Regions from separate parts of the Homo sapiens genome. Here all the other regions are linked to region 3. The links are contacts of gene promoters, found by promoter capture Hi-C in blood cells and fetal thymus (Javierre and others, 2016). All regions are on one chromosome and are shown on one strand. Each heading gives the region's core, a stretch centred on a gene start or on the middle of the fragment in contact. The rest is flanking DNA. Distances are from core to core; before and after follow the strand shown. Region 1 overlaps AGAP2 (ArfGAP with GTPase domain, ankyrin repeat and PH domain 2). Region 2 holds the start of OS9 (OS9 endoplasmic reticulum lectin). Region 3 holds the start of AVIL (advillin).

Region 1 (3,231 bases), core at 496-2,995, 84 kb after region 3:
AGCCCTTCCCCACAGTTCTTTTGGAGGGCGTTTGTGGGGAGGGTGTGGGAGATGGAGGCATAGGAAAATCCTAGCTCTTTCCCTTGGGCTGTGGGGAGGGGTCCAGGGCTACAGTGCCGTTGACCTTGAAGAAGGGGAGGGAAACCCCTCACCTCAGTTTCTCTCCTGTGGAATGGAGGTTGGGGAAGACACACTCTCTTCTGTGTTTCAGCACCTCCTCCCAGGGTCTGCCCTGGGAACCAGTGGGTTAGGGAGGAGCTCCTCTTCTATTCTTTTTCCAGAGGGAAGAACCTGCCACTGTCAGAGCCCTGGTCTCCCTGTCTGGGGCCAGGACCCGCGTTTGGGGATGTGCTTTAAGGGAGATGCCAACTGAAGTATTTTTGTCTTGCTAGCTCCGTTGCTAAGCAACCACTGAGCGGCAGCAACAGCTGGGGGAGAGTGGCTGGGATGGGAGGCCTGGGGACCACCCTCAAACCTGTCTGTTGCACACACCTCTCCAGTGCAGGCAGGGTTGGGGGGGGGTTGGAAAGCTGCAGAGGGAGGAGGGGTGGCTCAGTGTTGGGGGTCCTTCTGAGCCAGGAGCCTCCCCTCTTACTGCCCTTCTCCCGTTACAGAGGCTGTGATCAATAGCCAGGAATGGACTTTGAGCCGCTCCATTCCTGAACTGCGCCTGGTAGGTAACCCAGTCCCCTTGCCTATAGGGAAGGCTGACCTCCCACCCACTGCACTCTCAGCTCTCTCCCTTCACCTCTCCTTCTCTCTCTCTCTCTCTTTGGGAATAGGGAATCGTTTTCCAGTTCTCCTGAGAGTCTGCCTTCATAGCACCAACATGGGGTTTGCTACAGCCTCCTCACAAGTTTTTCCTATCTAGTCTTTATGCAGCCATCCCCTTTTTCCTGTTTGTTCATGGTCCTCCTCCAGGCTTCTCATTTCTGGTATCTGCCCTTTGGCCTTCATGTTGTACTGCCTAGAATTGGGTAAAGTTTTCCAACTAGTGCCTAGAGCTGTGACATGCTACAAACACACACACACAGAGACACACACACACAACATATCTAGTATGTTTTCTAAACAACCCAACACACAAAAAAGCTGGTACTGAATTGCTGACATTCTTCAGCTCGTGCTCCACTTTGAGCTTGGGATCATTTCTTACCACACTCATGCCCTGATCCTCCCAACTGCTCTGATCCCCCCAGCTGCTCTGATCCTCCCAACTGCTCTCTCTGGAATGACTGTCATCCAGGCCCTGTAGGGTCCTGCTTGGATGACTTATCTCTCTGGGTTTTCTGGAGTGTCCAGACCCATGCATCCTGCCTTCTCTTATATCCCACAATTTCTGCTCCACAACCTTGCCCTCAGGGTGTGCTGGGCGATGCCAGGAGTGGGAAGTCATCGCTCATCCACCGATTCCTGACTGGCTCATACCAGGTGCTGGAGAAGACAGAGAGTGAGTTCTGAAGAGCCATAGTAAGCTAACCATTGGGGTCAGGGATCCAGGAGTGAGATCAATGATTAGGCAGGTGTGGAGACCAGGGGGGAAGGATGAGGCCATAATAGCAAAAGCACTGGGAGCATGGGGAGGTTTGGTGACCTGTCACCTCTGACCTGTTACCCCTTCCAACTCTTCTGGACAGGTGAGCAGTACAAGAAAGAAATGTTGGTGGATGGACAGACACATCTGGTGCTAATCCGAGAGGAAGCTGGGGCACCTGATGCCAAGGTGAGGGTGGAGGTGGTGGGGGACAGGCTGGCTGGGGTCAGCACTGGCCAAAGGAGAGGGCTCTGGTTTCCCAGGTCTTCATCTGGATTGGGTCCAGAGGAGTAGACCTGTCTGACTTTCCATTTGCTCCCTCACTCCCCGCAAGTTCTCAGGCTGGGCAGATGCTGTGATCTTCGTCTTCAGCCTGGAGGATGAGAACAGTTTCCAGGCTGTGAGCCGTCTCCATGGGCAGCTGAGTTCCCTTCGCGGGGAGGGACGAGGAGGCCTGGCCTTGGCACTGGTGGGGACACAAGGTAAGGAGGGGTTAGGAAAGCACTGCTTTCAAGGGAGGCCCTAAGGAGGCTACTGGGATATTGCCCAACATGGGTGAGAACTTGGTAAGGTGTGGAAATGGCCACTTGGATTATAGTACCCTTCTGGAGGGAGCCTGGTCTCCAAATAAGGGAGTCATGAAACCAAACAATAACTTCCCAAGGTCTGAGCAGAGAAAAGGGGATCTCCAGGGAGGAAAGGACAGCTATAGTAGCCATCTCCTTGCCTCTCCTGAAATGTCACCTACCTTGTGTTCTGACACTGCCATTTCCTAGTGCCACCATCCTAGGACACAGAAAATCTCAAGTCCTAGGGTGGATAGGAAACCTTTTCCATCTTCCTTTTTGCGACAGCTGGGTAAGGCTGACACCTTTTAAAGGAACTTATCCAAAAACAAAGTGAAAACACAAAGGAAATGATGATGAAAAGAAGAGAGCAGAAAACCTTTTAGTTCTCAGAGAAGTGACTCAGAGGCTCCCAGACTCTGCCAGGGCCAGGAAATGCTTTTCCAGCACTCCCCTGTGTCGAGCTGGTGGGACTTGGTCTGGATGCCTGTTCTGCTGGTGCCTATCTCCACCTGTTGCTTGCATCCTGGTTTCTTGCTGCAGAGTGGGCAGTCCAGCCATGACCCATGGGCACCCAACCTTTTCCTAGTTCACAAGCTGGTGTCCTCCCACCAGTTCAGGGTTCTATGGATTTGCAGGGCAGGGTGATTGTCGCTCGCGCCTGGGTCTCAGCTATGTAGACCTTGTCAGGAAGCACCACTCAGCAGCTCTGGAGTATTCCTTGAGGACACACACACACACACACACACACACACAGCTCACCCAGCTAGGTGTGTGAACTGGGCCCAGTACTCAGAAAGGGCTTATGTACTCCCATTCCACCTGGTCACAGAAAAGATGATCTCTCACACCCCATCCCCAGTGGACCCAGCCTGAGGGCCCAGTGCAAGGATAAGGGAATTGTGAAAAATCGAACAAGGTGGGGCTCCTTGTTCAATCCTGCCCCTTTCCTGTCCCCTCAGACAGGATCAGTGCTTCCTCCCCTCGGGTGGTGGGAGATGCTCGTGCCAGAGCTCTGTGCGCGGACATGAAACGCTGCAGCTACTATGAGACTTGTGCAACCTATGGGCTCAATGTGGATCGGGTCTTCCAGGAGGGTGAGTGTAGTGATCTCCAGCATATGTGGGAAGC
Region 2 (2,821 bases), core at 42-2,541, 120 kb after region 3:
CTTGAACATTCCTGGCACTGTTCTGGCCACTGGGAATACAACTGTGAACAAGATTAATTCTTTGACCTCATGGAGTTTACACTCTAATGCGGGGAATCAGACCGAAAATAAACAAACTGATTCAGTAAATATGATTTCAGATCATGAAAAGTGCTACGATGAAAATAAAACAGGATACTGGAGCAGAGTGATAGGGCAGGGGGTGACTTTAGCAAGTAGGCTTAAGGAAGTACTCCTCCTACCCCACGCAGACCCTCAATCTTGCTTTAGCCCTTTTCTGAGATCTTCTATCCTAACCTGCTCCTACGTTCAGCAAAGTGTCATCAGTGGTTGCAGGATTCTTTGCTTCTTTCCTGTCCGTGTAATCTGTCTACTCCTCCAGTGGTCTTCTTAACCACTACAGGTCCCCTAGATCCTGCCTCATTCAGTGGACTCCAGTTCTTGGATGAACTGCTAGTTTCCAAGCCCTCATTCTATCTAACCCAGTCCCTTTCACCTTCAGCAAGCAGGGAGCATCTCTCATTGGGCTCAACAACTCAGGGATCCCAGGCCCTTGGTAAGCAGGTGTTTCCTCCTCCCTTTCACGCTGGAAGTGAATAGCTCCAGCTGGCAGGCGACACTCATAGCGCTGTTTGTACTTAGAGGAGACAATCACCACGTCCGAAGATTGGCTCTGGGAAAGAAGGGAGGGTCGGGGGGCAAGGAAGCAAAGAAAGGCTGGGATCAGGGAGAACAACGAAATCCCTCTTCAAACCCTGGGGAAGAGATCAGTCGAAGACAGAATAAGCCATAAGCCCTCCAGCTGTATTTAGTGGGTGAGAGGAGAGGGCGCTCCCATTTCTCCACGGGGGCGGAGTCCGGGTGTTTCGATCATAAACTGAGACCTGAAGGTTGACAGCGGGAAGCCCCACCTCTCCCAATTCCTGGCCCCCAGAGAATTGGTCTCAGTCTGCGACCCCCAGGGGTCACCGTAAAAGCAATACCTACTCTTCCCGATTCCCCGTAGGCTCCAGCCCCAGACTCCGGAGCTGCCCTTCTTCCTCTATCTCTTACCCGCTTCCTCTTCTGCCCAGACCCTCGCCCCTTATACGCCTCTCACCTGCCCTCCCATGACAGGCAACGGCAGGATCTCGATCCCATAACGCATCTCACTCAGCTCCTCCAGGTTCAGGCTCCCGACACCGCCGGTCAGACTTGCGGGTAACAGGAGTCCCAGAAGCAGCAGTCCTAACAAACTGGACAGCAGCGTTTCCGCCGCCATCTTTCGTTCCCCTTCTTATGCAGAGAATCTGTTTCCGCCCTAAGCCAGGCAGCGGCCTCAACACGCCCATCGGCGCCACATGATTTTATTGGCTGTACGTTCTATCCCTCCCACGTACCCTATTCCTATTTGTAAACGTGGCTCCAAGGTCCTGGGGAGGTGGATCACGACGATTAGAAATATCAATCGCTGTCCGTGATTGGTCAGAGACCAGCCAATCATCGACAAGATCAAACCCCTCCTCGTTCCCCAATTTCAGAGGCGTGGTCTATGCGCTTGGTCCTTTTAAGTTTGCCCTCTGTCTTCGCCCAGCTGTCATGCGCATCTCATTGCTTTTTCAGACGTCTCTTGCATTATATCCTGCCCACCGCCGGGCGGAGTATTGAGGCAGATAGGTAGCGTGCGCAGTGCCGGTGAAAGTTATTAAATGCTTGTTGCAAAACAAACAATTATTATACGGACGCTTACCTCTTTTCATATATACATATTGCTTTGAGGCAATCAGAAAATTTGTGTCAAAACCTTCCTATACGATCCTGCAGTTGACCTCCAGTAAAATGACCTCCAGTAAAAATCCTAGAGAAATAATGCGGGCAGCCAGACGTGGTGGCACGCACCTGTGGTATCAGCTACTCCGGAGGCTGAGGCAGGAGGATCTCCTGAGCCCAGGAGTTCAAGTGCAGCCTGCGCAACACAGCGAAACCCCGTCTCAAATAAGTACGTACATACATACATACATACATACATACATACATACATACATACATGCATACATGGGCTTCCAGTTAAGGTGAAATTATGTATTACTCTCCAGGCCGTAAGAAAGGGAAAGGAGACAACAACAGCAACATTTTGGAAGCTGGAAATCAAACAGAAGAATGTTAACTGGTTTAGCAAACTTGAGAATATTTATTACGAAACAAAGGTAAACAAGAGGCTGATTATACCTTTGGAAAACCCTCTCTGGGGAATCTCACCAGCCAAAACGAAAAATCCCAAAGATACCCTTATCAGAGTTCTCTTAATGATATAGATAACTAGAATGAATTCCACATGTAACACTTTGGCCTACGTGCCCCAGCCCTCATTCCACTTTCCAATCAGCTTTTTAGTGTTCTTACTCTTCAAAATAAATAGCCAGAGATCATTAGACATTTAAGGAAGGACTTTAATATACAAGTAAGAAACAAACAAGAAGGGAAAAGCAAATGAGAGGAAACATAAATTGCAAGGGAGGGGAAAAAACACTAAAAATAAAAAATTTAAAAATAGGCCGGGCACGGTGGCTTACGCCTGTAATCCCAAAACTGTGGGAGTCCGAGACGGGCGGATCACTTGAGGTCAGGAGCTCAAGACCAGCCTGGCTAACGTGGTGAAACCCCGTATCTACTAAAAATACGAAAATTAGCTGGGCATGGTGGCACGCGCCTATAGTTCCAGCTACTCAGGAGGCTGAGGCAGAAGAATTGATTGAACCTGGGAGGCGGAAGTTGCAGTGAGCTGAGATTGCGGCACTGCATTCCAGCCTGGGCCACAGAGCTAGACTCCGTCTGAAACAAC
Region 3 (3,159 bases), core at 319-2,818:
CTGGTAAATATTTACATTCAGCCAGGGAAGAGGAGGCCAGAGGTCGGGCCAGCTGCCCCATTCTTTTAACGTTGTAGGGCCTGCCCATGGAGCGGACCCTCCTCTTTGGGCCTCGTGAGCTTTTTTGCTTATCATGTTCCATTTCGTGCCGCTTTCCCCCTTCAAGATGCCATTTGGAGGGTAGGGGATCTGCTTCCCACTGTGACTGGGCTATGGGATTCTGACTACCTTGCTTACAGATTCATGGTTTGATAAATTTGTTGTATTCAAAAACTTGAAATGCAGGACGCCATTAAGTGTCTGTTTATATTTTTGGAATATTTGTATTACTTACAATTAATTAATAAAAGTGGGTTTAAAAAACCTTTCCAGGAATGTGAGCTGCCACCAACCTTCATTGGCCCTTAAGTGTTCACTGGGCCCATGGCAAGCACCGCCTTTCTTCTCGCAACCCCTTCCATCATGAAGCAGCTGCACCCCCGGGCTGAGTGGGGTGTTGCACCCACCGGGAGGCCAGCTGCAGATGCCACACAGGGCTTCCGCTCAAGGTTACACAAGTTCTGCTGTGATCAACCCCATTGCAGTCAGGTGCTTAGCACGTGTATATGCTTGATGTCCTATTGACTTCTGGGCATGAACCAGAAGCCCTAAGGGAATGGATTATTATTTTTTTTTTTTTTTTTGAAATGGAGTCTTGCTCTGTTGCCCAGGCTAGAGGCAGTGGCATGATCTCAGCTCACTGCAACCTCCACCTCCCAGGTTCAAGCGATTCTCCTGCCTCAGTCTCCTGAGTAGCTGGGATTACAGGCGCCTGCCAGCACGCCCGGCTCATTTTTGTATTTTTAGTAGAGATGGGGTTTCACCATCTTGGCCAGGCTGTTTTCAAACTCCTCACATTGTGATCCACCCACCTCAGCCTCCCAAAGTGCTGGGATTACAGGCGTGAGCCACCACCACACCCAGCCCTGGGAATGGAGTCTTGATTCTTCTCTGCCCCTCACTGATTCTTCCAAACTGGAAACCCTGAAGCTGAGAGCCCAGCATGGTTCCTGGCAAACAGCAGGCACTCAAATATTGATTGGTTTACTGTATGACTAGTAGAGACCCCAACGAGCAAAACTGTGGCCTAATAAAATTCTGGCTCCTCTCCCAGACTTCCCCTCCCTTTGAGAAATGCCAGAAGCTTCTTAGGGAGGCTCTTGCCAACCTAGACATCACAGGCACTCATGGGGCAGCTCCAGCCTCTTCCTCCTGTCATCACCATAATGCATCCATATCTACAATATGGCAAATTTCATATCCTTCCAACCTCTTTCCTGCATTATTGATGGGCTGTGTGCACTTTTTAAAAAATCAATTAGATCAGGGCGTGGAGCTGGAGTTCAAAGAAGCCTTTAAAAGTCTGCTCTTCTGTTTTGCTGTTTTGAATAGGCACAGATAAAGCTTTCCCTCTGGTTTGAATAAGCCAAGCTCAGTGCTAGGTTGGCTCTGATTGGCCAGGACTAGGAAAATGCGGTTAAGATGCAAACACAAGCAAATATAACCCAGTATCTCTGCGGCCATTACTAAGCTAAGGCAGCAGGACCTGGAGCCTCCTGCTTTGGAGTGGTTCTTCAATACTGCTGCTGCTTACGCGCCGGGAAACTGGGAAGGCTGGTGAGCGAGAAGGCAAGGTAAGGTCTCTGATTTACGGGGGCATGCCAGTTAATCCTCCTGAATGAGGAAGAAATGAAAGGAAGAGGAGCTTGAGAGTCCCTTGGCTTTGTCTTCTGAGATGAGGCTTTTAAAATGAACCAGGAGTCTGGCTGGCCAGTTTTGCAAACTTCTTGTTCAGAAGAACCCCTTAGAGGCAGCTGAACATATAGGGCACATTTTCAAAAGCTGGGAAAGACAGACCCCTTTCACCTATCCCTAGAGAAAGATGGTATGGAGCAAGGCAGGAGGAGTTAAAACCAGCTTCCTGGCCCAGAGAGGTGGCTTACACCTGTAATCCCAACACTTTGGGAAGCCAGGGCATGAGGATTGTTTGAGCCCAGGAGTTTGTAACTTGTGACCATCCTGGGCAACATAGTGAGACCCTGTCTCTACAAAAAAAAAAAAAAAAAAAAAAAAAAAAAAAGCCAAGCATGGTGGTGCACACCTGTGGTCTCAGCTTCTCAGGAGGCTGAGGCAGAAGGATCACTTGAGCCCAGGAGGTGGCGGTTGCAGTGAGCCGTGATTGTACCACTGCACTCCAGCCTGGGTGACAGAGCAAGACCCTGTCTCAAAAACAACAACAACAAAAAACAGCTTCCTCTGCTCAGGGTCCGTCCAAAAGGGCATCTCTGAGAATTACAGGCCACTGGCTTTTAACCTGACATTTCAAAACTGTGCCCCACACCCAAGGGGTTTCTGCAGTCCTCTCAAAGGATACTGAATTAGGATTTAGGGAGAAGGAGAGACCCAGCTTTGGGAGATTTGATGTCAGAACTGTGTTTTCTGTGTGTTCCAGTGTGACAGGAAGTCCCTTCCTGGAGCTTATCCTCTCGCATTCGGGGTGCCTGGCCCAGGGAGCTCCTTGATTCCTAAATTCCTGCTGGGAAACGGGACAGGTTTCAGCCTCTGAGGCTCACAGTCCTAATTGCTGCCGGCTGGTTTGGCTTTTACCAGGGTGACAGTTCTCTGTCTCCAAGGAATGAATTCAGTGGCCCTTGTCCCCTTCCCCTAGTTGGCTCATGGCTTTTGCCTTTAATGACTGCTACGTAGGGTCTGAAGAAAACCCAAACACCATATTTCCTGGCAATTCTGAGCAGCACAGGGTGGGGCAGCACAAGTTATCAAATTAAATTCTCAAACACTGGCTGCTCCGCACCATTGCCTTGCTTTAGTCCTGCTACAGCAGTAGACAAAGCGAGTCTGCTTTGAGCTTTATGGTTTTTTGCCAAAGTCCATACTAGATGGCGCATGCTCTCCAAACTTGGCTTTGTCCATCAAGGTTCAAGAAAACAATGGTCAGACATGTTCCTCTTAACAAACAGTATGTCCCCAAACAGCAAAAATGCATACAGTCCTTTCTGGGTGAATTTTTAAATCTTACATAAATCCATCAACCCCATCCTTTTTCCTTTGCCTCTTGGGAGAAATTAATCTAGCTTTACATTAATTATGCATGTTATCAGA

What was found. The method cuts DNA at HindIII sites, captures the fragments that hold promoters and counts their contacts. A CHiCAGO score of 5 or more calls a contact.
Region 1: a fragment that was not itself captured here is called in contact with the fragment with the promoter of AVIL in region 3 in 2 of 17 cell types (M0 macrophages and M2 macrophages); the score reaches 5.7 in M0 macrophages.
Region 2: the fragment with the promoter of OS9 here is called in contact with the fragment with the promoter of AVIL in region 3 in 1 of 17 cell types (neutrophils); the score reaches 5.1 in neutrophils.

Annotation. Positions count from the first base shown.
Region 1 is chr12:57,732,811-57,736,041 of GRCh38, reverse strand. AGAP2 (ArfGAP with GTPase domain, ankyrin repeat and PH domain 2) reads left to right here. Exons shown (of 19, transcript NM_001122772.3): 2 at 615-673; 3 at 1,363-1,450; 4 at 1,638-1,723; 5 at 1,869-2,016; 6 at 3,063-3,197. Among named protein-coding and RNA genes, the nearest start is that of AGAP2, 4.3 kb to the left of the region's middle. RefSeq lists an enhancer at 1,213-2,412. The HindIII fragment of the contact is 5,376 bases long and covers 1-3,231 here.
Region 2 is chr12:57,692,602-57,695,422 of GRCh38, reverse strand. OS9 (OS9 endoplasmic reticulum lectin) reads right to left here and starts at 1,291. Exons shown (of 15, transcript NM_006812.4): 1 at 1,100-1,291; 2 at 497-673. The coding sequence starts at 1,261. RefSeq lists enhancers at 1,051-1,100, 1,088-1,662. The HindIII fragment of the contact is 11,057 bases long and covers 1-2,821 here.
Region 3 is chr12:57,817,143-57,820,301 of GRCh38, reverse strand. It overlaps AVIL (advillin), which reads left to right and starts at 1,568. Exons shown (of 20, transcript NM_006576.4): 1 at 1,568-1,673. It overlaps CTDSP2 (CTD small phosphatase 2), which reads left to right. Exons shown (of 8, transcript NM_005730.4): 8 at 1-375. The HindIII fragment of the contact is 1,940 bases long and covers 1,446-3,159 here.